Linked DNA regions of Homo sapiens: region 1 is linked to region 2. The links are contacts of gene promoters, found by promoter capture Hi-C in human tissues and cell types (Jung and others, 2019). All regions are on one chromosome and are shown on one strand. The core of a region is centred on a gene start or on the middle of the fragment in contact, and the rest is flanking DNA. Distances in the headings are between cores, read along the strand shown. Region 1 overlaps NUDT7 (nudix hydrolase 7). Region 2 holds the start of VAT1L (vesicle amine transport 1 like).

Region 1 (6,453 bases), core at 2,244-4,743, 56 kb before region 2:
TAGTAACATATTACTATACATATTACCTCACATAGTAACATATCACCATATACATCATATAGTAACATGTCATCATACATATTTTCTTCAAAATAGCATATTTTCTTTAAAAAAAAATTTAGGCCAGGCATGGCTCACACCTGTAATCCCAGCATTTTGAGAGGCCAAGGTGTGGGGATCACCTGAGGTCAGGAGTTTGAGACCAGCCTGGCCAACATGGTGAAACCCCATCTCTACTAAAAATGCAAAATTAGCTGGGTGTGGTGGTGCACACCTGTAGTTCCAGCTACTCGCGAGGCTGAGGCAGGAGAATCGCTTGAACCTAGAAGGCAGAGGTTGCAGTGAACCGAGATTATCCCACTGCACTCCAGCCTGGGCAACAGAGCGAGACTCTATCTCAATAAATAAATAAATAAATAAATTTTAAATCAACAGATAAAATTGTATAGATTTATCCTGTACAACATGATGTTTTGAAGTATATATTCACTATGGAATGACTAAATCTAGCTAATCAATGTACTAACTCACATAGTAACATATTACCACACACATTACCTCACATAGTAACATATTAACACATATACTACCTCATATGGTAACATATCACCACACACATTACCTCACATAGTAACATATTAACACACATACCTCATATGGTAACATGTCACCACACATAACATACTATCTCACATAGTCATCATCTTTGCACTAAGAACACTTTATATCCATTCAGCAATTTTCAAGAATACAGTATGTTAACTATAGTTACCATAGTATACAATACATCTCTCGAATTTATTCCTCCTGACTGGCTGAAACTTTTTATCTTTTGACCAACATCTCCCCAACCTCCCCCCAAACCACCTCAGCAGCTAGTAACCACCATTCTACTCTCTACTTCTCTGAGACTGACTTTTTAATATTCCACATATGAATGAGATCATGTGGCATCTGTGACTGGCTTATTTTACCTAACATAATTTCCTCCAGGTTCATCCATGTTGTCACAAATGACAGGATTTCCTTCTTTTTTATGACTGAATAATATTCCTCTCTGTATATACATTTTCTTCATTCACTTGTTGATGGATACTCAGGTTGATTCCATGTCTTGGCCATTGTGAACAATGCTGCAGTAAACATGGGTGTGCAGAGACCTCTTCGATATACTGATTTCATTTCCTTTGGATATATAACCAGTAGTGGGATTGCTGGATCATATGGCAATTCTGTTTTTAATTTTTTGAGAAACCTCCATTCTGTTTTCCACAATGATTGTACTAATTTACATTCCCACCAAGAGTGTGTGATAGTTCCCTTTTTTCCATATCCTCAACAACACTTACGTTTTGTTTTTTAGATAATGGCCATTCTAAAAGGTGTGACGTAATGTCTCTCTGTGGTTTTAATTTGAATTTTCCTGGTGATTAGTGATGTTAAGCATTTTTTTCATATACCTTTTGAGAAATGTCTATTTAGTTCCTTTGTCCATTTTTAAATTTTTTTTTATTATTGATATTGAGTTGAGTTCCTTATATATTTTGGATACTAGCCCCTTTTCAGATGTATGGTTTGCAAATATTTTCTCCCATTCCACAGATTGTCTTTTCATTCTGTTGAGTGTTTCCTTAGCTGTGCAAAAGCTTTTTAGTTGAAGTAACCCCATGTTTTATTTTTGCTTTCATTGCCTGTGCTTTTGGGGTCATATTTTAAAAATCATTGCCCAGCTCAAGGATAACATTTTCTTGAGAGCAATGTTCTCACTAATCCAAAATGATCTTTTCCAATTCCTATTACCTATTAATTGGAATAGGTGTACAAGGCAAATTGAATAAAATTGGTATGCTATGAGATACTTTTGAAACCTTTCAAAATACAGTCATGTGCTGCAAAACTGTTTTTCCATCAATGATGGACCATGGACCATATATACAATGGTGGCCCCAAAAGATGATAATGGAGCTGAAAATTCCTATCACCAACTGACATCATAGCAGTCATAATGTCATAGCACAAGACATTACTCACATGTTTGTGGTGATGCTGGTGTAAACAAACCTACTGTGTTGCCAGTGGTCTAAAAGTGTAGCACATACAATTATGCACAATATATAATACTTGATAATGATAAAAAATGACATTTCTGGTTTATGAAATTTACTACACTATTCTTTTAAATCATTATTTTAGAGTGTTCTTCTTCTACTTATTTTTTAAAAATAACTATAAAGCAGCCTTAGTAAGGTCCTTCAGGAGATATTCCAAAAAACACAGGCATTGTTATTGTAGGAGATGAGAGCTCCATGTATGTTATTGTTGCCCCTGAAGACCTTCCAGTGGGACAAGAGGTAGAGGTAGAAGACAGTGATATTGATTATTCTGTGTGTTGTATCTTAGTTTTTAGCAAGAAAGTTTAAAAAGAAAAAAAAATCCTTAAAAATAGAAAAAAGCTTCTAGAATAAGGATATAATGAAAATATTTTGTATAGCTGTGTAATGTATTTGTGTTTTAAGCTAAGTGTTATTACAAAAGAGTCAAAAAATTAAAAATTAAAAAGTTTAGAAAGTAAGAAGTAATAGTAAGCTACAGTTAATTTATTATTTAAAAAAGAAAAAGGCCGGGGGGTGGTGGCTTATACCTGTAATCCCAGCACTTTGGGAGGCCAAGGTGGAGGGAACCATCTGAGGTCAGGAGTTCGAGACCAGCCTGGCCAACATGGCCAAACCTCATCTCTACTAAAAATACAAAAATTAGCCAGGCATGCTGGCGGGTGCCTGTAATTCCAGTTACTTGGGAGGCTGAGGCAGGAGAATCACTTGAACTCAGGAGTCAGAGGCTGCAGTGAGCTGAGATCCCATCACTGCACTCCAGCCTGGTCGACAGACGAGAACACGTCTCAAAAAAAAAAAAGAAAAAGAAAAATATTTTTATAAACATACTATAGCCTAAGTGTCTAGTATTTATGAAGTCTAGAGCAGTGTTTAATGTCCTAAGCCTTCACATCCACTCACCACCCACTCATTCACTGACTCACACAGAGCAGCTTTCAGTCCTGCAAGCTCCATTTATGGTAAATGCCCCATACTGGTGAACCATTTTTGATCTTTTATACCATATTTTTACTGTACCTTTTCCGTGTTTAGATGCACAAATACTTACCATTATGTTACTATTGCCTGCAATATCCAGGACAGTAAAATGGTATACAGGTTGTAACCCAGAAGCAGTAGCTACACCATATAGCCTAGGTTTATAGTAGTCTATATTATCCAGGTTTGTGCAAGTGCACCCTGTGTTGTTTACACGATGATGAAATCGCCTAATGCATTTTTCAGAACGTGTCCCTGTTGTTGAGTAACACGTGACTGTACATTTAAAACAGGCATCATATCAGGTCTGTTTCTGTCAAGCCTGATGACTGCTTGGAGGTGCGTTTGTCCCTGGCTGCCTTGGAGTTGAACGTTCTAACAATAAAGCACTGTTTCAGAGTTGCTGTAACATTAGGTGTATTTCTTACGCATTTGGTAAGACATATTTGCAGTCGCTGGTGAGTGTTCAAGACAGTAGAAATATGTCCATCAGCCTTCTTTTCACCTGTTTTTACAACTGTAATTGATGTGAAGATGTCTAAGGATTTAGCTATGGCAGCAATTTCTGCAGTGTTCCTGATTTATCAGCACAGAAGGACTTAAAAAAAAATTTTTAAGTCTTGCCCAAATGAGGCTGAAGCCTATAAAATATCAAAAAGTTTATCATGGCATTGTCATAGTCCTCTCAAGCTGCTATAACAAAACACCTTAGACTGGGTGGCTTATAAACAACAGATACTAATTCTCACAGTTCTGGAGGCTGGGAAGTCCAAGATCAAGCTGCCAGAAGATTTGGAGTCTGGTGAGGGCCCTGTTTCAGTTCATAGATAGTCATCCTTTCAGTGTCCTTACAGGGAAAGGGGCAAAGAGTCTGTCTCTGGTCTCTTTTATAAGGGCATTCATCTCATTGATGAGGGCTCTGCCCCCATGACCTAAACACCTCCCAAAGATCCCACCTCCTAATACCATCACCTTAGGGGTAAGGATTTCAACATATGGATTCATGGGAGAATAAACATTCAGGCCATTGCAGGCATCTAGTTTATCCTTACATAGATATATGGCCTAGGTGCTAAAAATGGCAACATGATCTCTTGATTGAGCTTCTCAATGTCCAGGACTGACCTTACAAGTTCTCATTATTAAATATTTAATGTGGCCACGCACCATTCCCGTGCATCCGCTCCATCCTCATGGAACAATCTTCACAGCTCTGTGAGGAGCACACTGTCATTACCCCATTGCACACAGTTGGAAAGAGGCAGACCCAGGACTCTTGCTGAGCCTGAGGGCTCCTTGACAATTCAGGAGAGAAAGGATAGTGGGTACTAGGCACAAGTGGGCATAAAAGAAATTGAGGTCACTCTGCTGAGATATTTGGCCCTGCAGAAGAGAGAACAGTGGAGGGTTTGTGCCTCTCCACTTCTGCCCAAGATATGAGAGAAATAATTTTAAAGACAGAGATAAGAAAGGGGGTAATTTTAGGATGCTATAGAGACACTGTCAGTTCTCCTAAAGGCAGGAAGGAATGGAATCAAGGAAGGGGGCAATGCGGGGAAAGAGGAGACCTCTTTTCCTTTACCAACACACGCAAAGATAAACATAGATGCCAACACAATGCTAATAGCTCCAGGGCCTATATTTTTTGTGTCTTACTAAACTTTTGATAAATGTGTGTTGTACTGATTAAAAACACAGGCTCGTAAATTAAACACTGGTTTATATTCCAGCTCACTGAGTGAACTTGGTCAGGTTATTTAACCTCTGTGAGCCTAAGTTCCTTTGTCTGAAAATGGAAATAATAATAGTATAAGAGTAGCTTATGGCTGGGTGCGGTGGCTCACGCCTGTAATGCCAGCACTTTGGGAGGCCGAGGAGGGCAGATCACGAGGTCAGAAGATCGAGACCAGTCTGGCTAACATGGTGAAACCCCGTCTCTACTAAAAATACAAAAAATTAGCCGGGCATGCTGGTGGGCACCTGTAGTCCCAGCTACTCAGGAAGCTGAGGCAGGAGAATGGTGTGAACCCAGGAGGCAAGGCTTGCAGTGAGCCGAGTTCGCACACTGCACTCCAGCGTGGGACACAGAGCGGGACTCCATGTCAAAAAAGAAAAGAAAAGAGTAGCTTACCTGCCCATCAATGCATGAGTGGATAAACAAACTGTGATCTATACACACAATAGAATACTATTCAGCCATAAAAAAGGAAGTACCAATACACGTAGAACATGAAGAACCTCAAAAACATATGTGAAGGGAAAAATGCCAGACACAAAAGTCGAGACTAGGTAAATCCACAGAGACAGAAAGCAGGGACAGAGGGAGAGGGGAATGAGAATCAACTGTTGTATGGGGTTTCCTTCTGGGATGATGAAAATATTCTGGAATGAGATAGTAGGGATGATTGTACAACACAGTAAATGTATTAAACGTCTCTGCTTTTTTTCACTTTAAAATGGTTACTTTTATGTGAATTTCACCTCGTTCAAAAATTAGTAGCTTATAGGACTGTTCTGAGGACCCAGTGGGAAAAATCTTTATGAAACAACATGCCCAGAACATAATAAGCAGCCATTAAAGGACTCAACAAAATTATCTGTTGATAATATTGCCCCTTACATTATTCTTTCAGCTTTTTCCCCCTAGCAGTGTCAATCTGTGTGTGTGTGATATGGTTTGGATCCTGTCCCCACCCAAATCTCATGTTCAGTCGTAAACCCCAATATTGGACCTGGGGCCTGGTGGGAGGTGATTTGATCACGTGGGCGGATTTCCCCCTTGGTACTGTCATCACAATAGTGAGTGAGTTCTCACGAGATAAGGTTGTTTAAAAGTGTGTAGCACCTCCCCTCCCTCTCTCTGTCTCCCGCTCCAGCCATGTGAAGTGCTTGCTCCTCCTTTACCTTCCGCCATGATTGTAAGTTTCCTGAGGTCTCCCCAGAAGCCAAGCAGACGCCAGCATCATGCTCCCTGTACGGCCTGCGAGACTGTGAGCCAACCAAACCTCTTTTCTTTATAAACTACCCAGTCTCAGTTATTTATTTATAGCAGTGCAAGAACAGATTAATACAGTGTGTGGTATCTTTTGGGGACAAATAGAATAAAAGTTAGCAGTGAGAAAAATTTTCAAGGTTCATTTCTTAAAAAGGATTCAAGAAAACACATTTGTGGGCAATAGGGGTCTTGATACCACCACCTGGGTAAGAATGGTCTCTGGTACAAAATAGAAGTCCAGTAAGTATTTGTTGAATGCATAAATAGTTCCAAAATTAGAATCCCACATTGTAGCGCTGTTCTTTCTATATCCAGCTAAGAAGGGCCCCTGGAGAAGTTTGCTTCCCTGGAGGTAAGCGTGACCCT
Region 2 (6,436 bases), core at 783-3,282:
CTCAGTTGGGACCATTCTCATTTATTTTGTTTCTTTTTGGGGATTTTTTTTTTTTTTTGCCTGCACTTAGTCTCTAACTGATCTCGATGCTTCCAGTAACTCTATCATCTAATCCATCACCCACTTACTGTCAAAGTTATTATCCTAAAATGCAGTTCTGGTAATGCTCTCCCCATGTTTTTGTTTTTTAAGCCTTTATGGCACCAATTGCCTCTGTGATTATGTCTTAAATTTTATAACCTGGTATGTGAGAACTTTCAAAAGCTGGTCCCAATAAACCTTTCAGCCTCATCTCCAATGATTGCTAAATACAGCCAATGTTCTGCCTACATAGAACAAACCAGAATCTCAAAAGCCCTTTTACCTGTTACCTTTCTGTGTTATTTGAATGAGCTTGCGACCTTTTCTGCCAGAAGAACCTGCCTTATCCTTCAAGGTCTAGCCCAAATGTTCCCTCCTCCATGAGAACTTCTCCAACTCTCTGGACCAGTTTTTCAACAGGCTGCCTCTGTGCATATTCTACTATGTACCAATCATGTATTAAGCCCTGGGAAAACCACGCTGGATAAAAGTAGAAATAGCTCCTGCTCACATGAAGTTCACAGTTGGATAAAGGAAACAGATATTATCAGGTAAACATATAAAAGTTGGCTACAAAGGGACATAAGTGTCTATAGTCAGGGAGGACACCAATCTGGAGGTTGGAGTGCCTCCCAACAGGAATGGACCCTTGAGGTGAGAACGAAGTAGGAGTTAACACCAGATAAAGGAGATGGAACACATACCCCAGGCCAAGGGGACAGCAGGTGCAGAACCCTGTGGAAGGAGGGAAAATGGCAATCGTCTTTTTTTTTTTTTTTTTTTTTTTTAAGGAATAGAAGACAAGGGCATTTAAAGCAGTGAGGCACAGGAAGAATGAGGGGAGAGAAGAGGCAGCACTTACATCATTCATTGTACCACATTTGTTGACTGTGTCCTTCATGCCTCATGCTCTGAAATTGACCTTTTCCAATATAAGGACCATGTCTCACTGAAATCATGTCCACCCCAGCACTTCACACAATATAGAAAAAAAAATCAATGTACCCAATTTATAGATGAGTGTGTTGAGGCTCAGGAAGGTTGAATGAGTTGCCCAAGATCTCAAGGCTGGCAATGGCATAGCAACTATAATAGAATATAGACCTACTTCCTCACCTGCATCTCTTTCCTTAAACTGCCCCTAGGAAAACCACGTCCTTCCCCATTATTTTATTTCAGAAATTCCAAGTTTTTCTATGAGCTGTTTTTCTCAAAGAGCCTGATAACAAAACAAAACGCCAGTTACTACTCTGTGTATGTGCATGCATGTTGGGGAGCGGGTACACACTGGTCTTCCGGGGATCAGAACACGAACAGGATCCTTTCTGGTACAGGATTCTTGTCTGAAGCCTCTTTAATAGCCCGAAATGGTGTGGGTGGTGAGAATTCGCCGTCGTAAGGAAGCCCCTGGTGATACCCAGCAAAGAGCATCCCGGCTGACCCTGCAGGTCTGGAGTGAAAAGACCCTGCACTGGACTCTTCAGGGCAGTGAGCGGGATCTCTAGTTCCCTGCTTCCCAAACCTCTCCGCCCTTCCACCCAAAACTGGCTGTTTGAGAAACGACCCAATTTCCCGACTATCCCGCCCAGCCTCGAAGATGGGAGGGAGAGAGGGCAACCTTGTCGCGGTAAGGCATCCTCCAGGCCCAGACATTAGTCTCGGTCCATTTCAAGGCACCCGAGCCTGTGCCGTATATAACCAAGTACTGGGCCCACAGGAAGGGGGATGACAGGGTGGTCTCTCTAGGCTCGTTTTAGTCACAGATCTTCGGCAAATTTGGGTTTAGGGCCGCGATCCCGACCCTAACTTGGGACTATTTCAGGAACTGGAGTTGAGGCTTCGTTGGGACAGGAAAGAAGGGTGGGGCGGGGGTGAAGCGCTTAGGGCACGGCTCTTGTGAGGATTACGGCGGAGGCTGTGGACCGCGGCGGCGCTCGCAGAGGCTGCAGCCATTGCACAGCCGAGCATCCCACATTCAACAGGAGGAACCCGCGGGAGAGGAGCCCCACTCCCCCAGCGCCGCAGCCACCGCAGCCACCGCAGCCCGTGCGCCCCGCGCCCTCGAGCGCCATGGCCAAGGAAGGCGTGGAGAAGGCGGAGGAGACGGAGCAAATGATCGAGAAGGAGGCAGGCAAGGAGCCGGCGGAGGGCGGCGGCGGCGACGGCTCGCACCGCCTCGGGGACGCCCAGGAGATGCGCGCGGTGGTGCTGGCTGGCTTCGGGGGGCTCAACAAGCTGCGGCTCTTCAGGAAGGCCATGCCCGAGCCTCAGGACGGCGAGCTCAAGATCCGCGTCAAAGCCTGGTCCAGTATCCGCGCCTTTCTCGCTTTCTCTCTTTTTGCGCGCTGGGCGCTGGGGAGGGGGTGGGAAAGCTGCGGCTGGGATGCTGCCCGGGTAGAACCGCCGCGCGCACCCCCTCCGCGCCCTCACCCGGGTCTCAGAGCCTCCCCGGGCCAAAGCTGGGGAGGATGCAGAGGGGCGGCCTCCCCAAGCCAGATCTAGGGGTGACGGGAGGAGAATGTGAGCTCCTGGGCGCGGGGAGAATGCTGGCGCCCAGGCACCCCGGGTCTGGAAGATTGCGCTACGGGAGTTCTCCGTCTGAGAGGACAACTCAGCTTTCGCACGGGAGGGTTGATGCTTAACAGAATTAAAAATATATGTATTAAGAACCGCAAGCCCACTGTGTGCCAGCCGCCGTTGGTAGTTTTACACGTGCGATCTTATTTAATACTTCCTGGGACCTAATGAGTCAGGTGCCATCATGATCCGTTTACAGGTAAGAAAGCCGCCGCTCAGCGAGAATGAGTGATTTGCCCAAGATCAGTCAGCTGCCACTAAGTGGCTTGGCCGGGAATTTGATACATGATCTTTTTTCACCTCTATGCTGTTGTCCTGAAGGGCCTGGGACAGGGTGCAGGGCTGGATCCCGCCTCCTGCCCACTTCCTTCCCCGTAGCCTGACGGGGAAAGGAACTAGGAAGGAAGAGGGTCGGTACCTTGCACCCAGGCTTGGTGAGGGTGGAGACCAGGGCTGCAGCGCAACCCCCTCCATGCCCCTCTCCATCCTCTGTTTCTCCGAGAGGGGAAAAAACCCTGATCAGTCTCCCCGGAATTCCTGGTCCCATCTCAGAAGGAGCTCAGCTCTCTAAGCTGCCCTCTATTCCCCATTCCCCCTGGGGGAACTTCTCCAGGCCCTCACGCTCAGCTGAAATTCCCGGGGAGAGTTTAAGCCTCTCTGTGTGCGGGCACTGTAATTTCCCTGAAGTTCTGGGAAGAGCTTACCCAGCAGAGGCGGACTGGACCCAACACTAGGTTTGCATGTTAAACTTGTAAGGGGAACTTGCTATTAATCACGGTGAGACGAGCCTATTCCTTCCCATCTGTTTTCTAGAGCCCCCCAGTACATACTGCTCTCCAAAGCAGCAGCCAGCTCACGAGCTTCTAGGTTAGATCAGAAACCCAATATCTGGACCTCTCTAGAGGCACGAGAAATACAAACGAGGGTCCCCTCCCGTTCACCACCTTGAGAACAGACGCAGGTTTCATCGGCCAGATTAGAAAGCAGCTAGTGGGAGAAGCAGCCGCTGATCCCTGCCTTGCTGCTCATATATGCAGCTGGTCAGGTTTGACTCTGAACACGACTCGTGAGTCTCTGTGGGGAATTCCGGGTAAGGGAAGAGGCTTTTGCAAACCGGGGGATCCTGTACAATAAACTCTTATTGAACCAAGTTGTTTGATCCCAGAAGGAGAGCTTATATCTGCCCTTTCGCAGCTAAATCCCCAAAGACCAGCCCACTCCCCCACCCCACACTGTTTGGCCCACTGCACATCCTAAATAAGTTATCGCTGAATGAATGGATTGAGGAAAGAGCTCGGAGGAGGATTGTTGGGTCATTATTTTTCTTTACTTGCTGGTGGAAGAGCTTTTGCTTAGTACAATTAAAACCATGCATTTAGAACTCTCCTTCCTTAACCACTTCATCAAAAAAAATTACCTGTATACACACACCTATGCATATATGTGCATATACATATATACAATTATATATACAGTTGCATATGTATGCGTATGTAATTTATGACCCTTCATCCAAATTGAGGATGGGATTCTAGGATTCTAGAGTACATATTCAGAGAGGGAAAATGATAAAACTACTTTTTAAAGGAAAGAGCATCATCTGCAGTACACATAGTTCTGTGTTTTCCAGTCTTATGTTAACTGCATAATTGCTGATAGGAACTGAAGCATTTTGAAATAATAAATGTCAAGATGAAGGCCAAGAGATTGATTTTCAAAGCCAGATGTGAAAGCCTGTTCTTCAGTGGCGCTACACACACACACACAGAAATCACTGCACTTCCCCGACCCTAGTTGTTCAGAAAGCCAACCAGGCTGCAGGTACATTTGGAATACAGTGTTGCAAACAGCCCAGATTGATTTTCCTTTCACCAAGCTGGAAGCAGAGTTAATGGTTTTACAAGGAAGGATTGTAATAGGCTTGTAAATGGCCCACTGGGCAGCTCCTTCTCCTCTGGGCTGGGATTGGCTGGCCAGACATGATCATTGATTATAAGTTTTAGCCTTGGGATACAGGATGACTCATTCTGTATTTTTATGAATCAGCCGATGGCTTCCTGGATGATGGTCTCCCTTTTATCTGCTCTCTATTTTTAATAGAAACCTTTTTGTCATAATAGGATATGCTTTTTGCTTGGAATAAAGCATAGTCCATTTGAACCAGTATTAGACAGACCTGGAATGACGTTCCAAGTTGGCTATGAATTTTATGAAAATGGAAGAGATGAGGCAGGAAGAAATATCCATTTTATATCATGGACCCTTTTTCATTAATGCGCCAGTGAGATGGGTATTTTTCCTACAGAACAGAAGAGCAAATTGAGGCTTGGAAACATTGAGTAATTTGCCAAAAACATCAAAAAATAGTAGACTTAGGATTTGAATCTAATTCTCCTTATATTTTTGCTATTTTCCTTTTATTCCATTTTTGTCTCCCTTGGTGGAAAAGCCTTAGCACATGTGATTCCCCTCTTAGCATGCAGTCTCACTTTCTTTCCTTTCTCCACCGAAGATGGTTCCTTTGCTCTTTTTGTGTCTGGCTTAAGAGAATATTCTCTAGCTATTTCCAAAGTAGTATGGCTTTCTCCAGAAAGTAGAGACATTTTGGTCAAATGCAGCTCAAAAAGAACTGTTGCTGGGGTCAGGGTTGGAATGATAGCAGAGTCTTCTGTCTAAATTGTTTTTTAAAATGTCAGTTTTGATGGCAGATGGATTTCACCAATTATTCATGGAATACTTTACGCAACAAGAGGTTTAAGTGACCAGGTGGAAAAAGCATGTGGCCCTTGAAGAGAGAGGGACTTGAATATAAGCTTAAGCCTCATCTCTTCCTATCCATATGCCCCTGGGGGATGTGTCTCAGTGTCTCCAAACTTCCCATACATTATCTGCAAAGTGGGGATAATAAAATGAACTTCATGGTATTGTTGAAAGGATCAGATGCAAGAAAGACACTGCCGCGTTGTCAGCATTCAATAAGTAGGATTCATTGTGACTGTCGTTGTTGCCATATCTAAACCAATGTGATATATGCTGCTTGGTGACCTACAACTTGGAGGCCATCATTTTAATCATGTATATAATATAGGCAATATCATGTCACATCTGCTTAGTGATTAAGAGAGCTTCCTAGACATGAGTCCCAGCTCTGATACTTGCTAACTGGATGTCTTAGGTCTGGCTCCTTGGAGGCAGAACCTGACGCAGGGATCCTTTTTCAGGTGGTTTATTGAAAGTGTGCTTTTAGAACTATGGGAGCAAGGGAAGCAGGCTAGGGAAGAGGAAGGAGTTAAGCAAAGATGTGGTCTTAGCTGGATCCCACTGCAGAGTCAGTCTCACCTTGAAGCAAGGAACAGAGGGAGCCTTGTGTGTCATTGGCTGTGAGCTACTTTCTAAGTGGGGACATTGAGCCTCTCAAGCAGAAGTGGCTTCTATCTGACTGAGCAAAATTCTCTAGGGAAAGGGATGACTCTGAGGCTTGAGCATCCAACACTTCCAGCAGTTTGGGGATGGGCACCTGCCCATAGACAGGATCTGGGTGAGGTACAAACCACGCCTTCTGGTTGGCCTTGGCCATGTTGTTGTTAAAAACATGTTAACAAACTTCTGTTTCCCGGACTATAAAATAGAGCATCCATTTTATAATAGCATCCCCCTTCATAGTATTGTAATGAAGCTTAAATGACATGCCATATACAAAGACCTTTATAAGGATGCCTGGTGCTTAGCAAGCAGTCAAAAAATGATAACCATTATTATCTAAACTTTTACTTTTGGT

Evidence for each region. The method cuts DNA at HindIII sites, captures the fragments that hold promoters and counts their contacts. A contact is called where the count stands out against the background at its distance.
Region 1: a contact is called between a fragment that was not itself captured here and the fragment with the promoter of VAT1L in region 2, in 1 of the 25 tissues and cell types used here (liver).

Annotation. Positions count from the first base shown.
Region 1 is chr16:77,729,426-77,735,878 of GRCh38, forward strand. NUDT7 (nudix hydrolase 7) reads left to right here. Exons shown (of 4, transcript NM_001105663.3): 3 at 6,403-6,453. Among named protein-coding and RNA genes, the nearest start is that of NUDT7, 10 kb to the left of the region's middle. The HindIII fragment of the contact is 7,499 bases long and covers 1-6,453 here.
Region 2 is chr16:77,786,532-77,792,967 of GRCh38, forward strand. VAT1L (vesicle amine transport 1 like) reads left to right here and starts at 2,033. Exons shown (of 9, transcript NM_020927.3): 1 at 2,033-2,384. The coding sequence starts at 2,152. The region is part of intron 1 of LOC107984878 (a long non-coding RNA gene); the gene reads right to left. The HindIII fragment of the contact is 13,812 bases long and covers 1-5,902 here.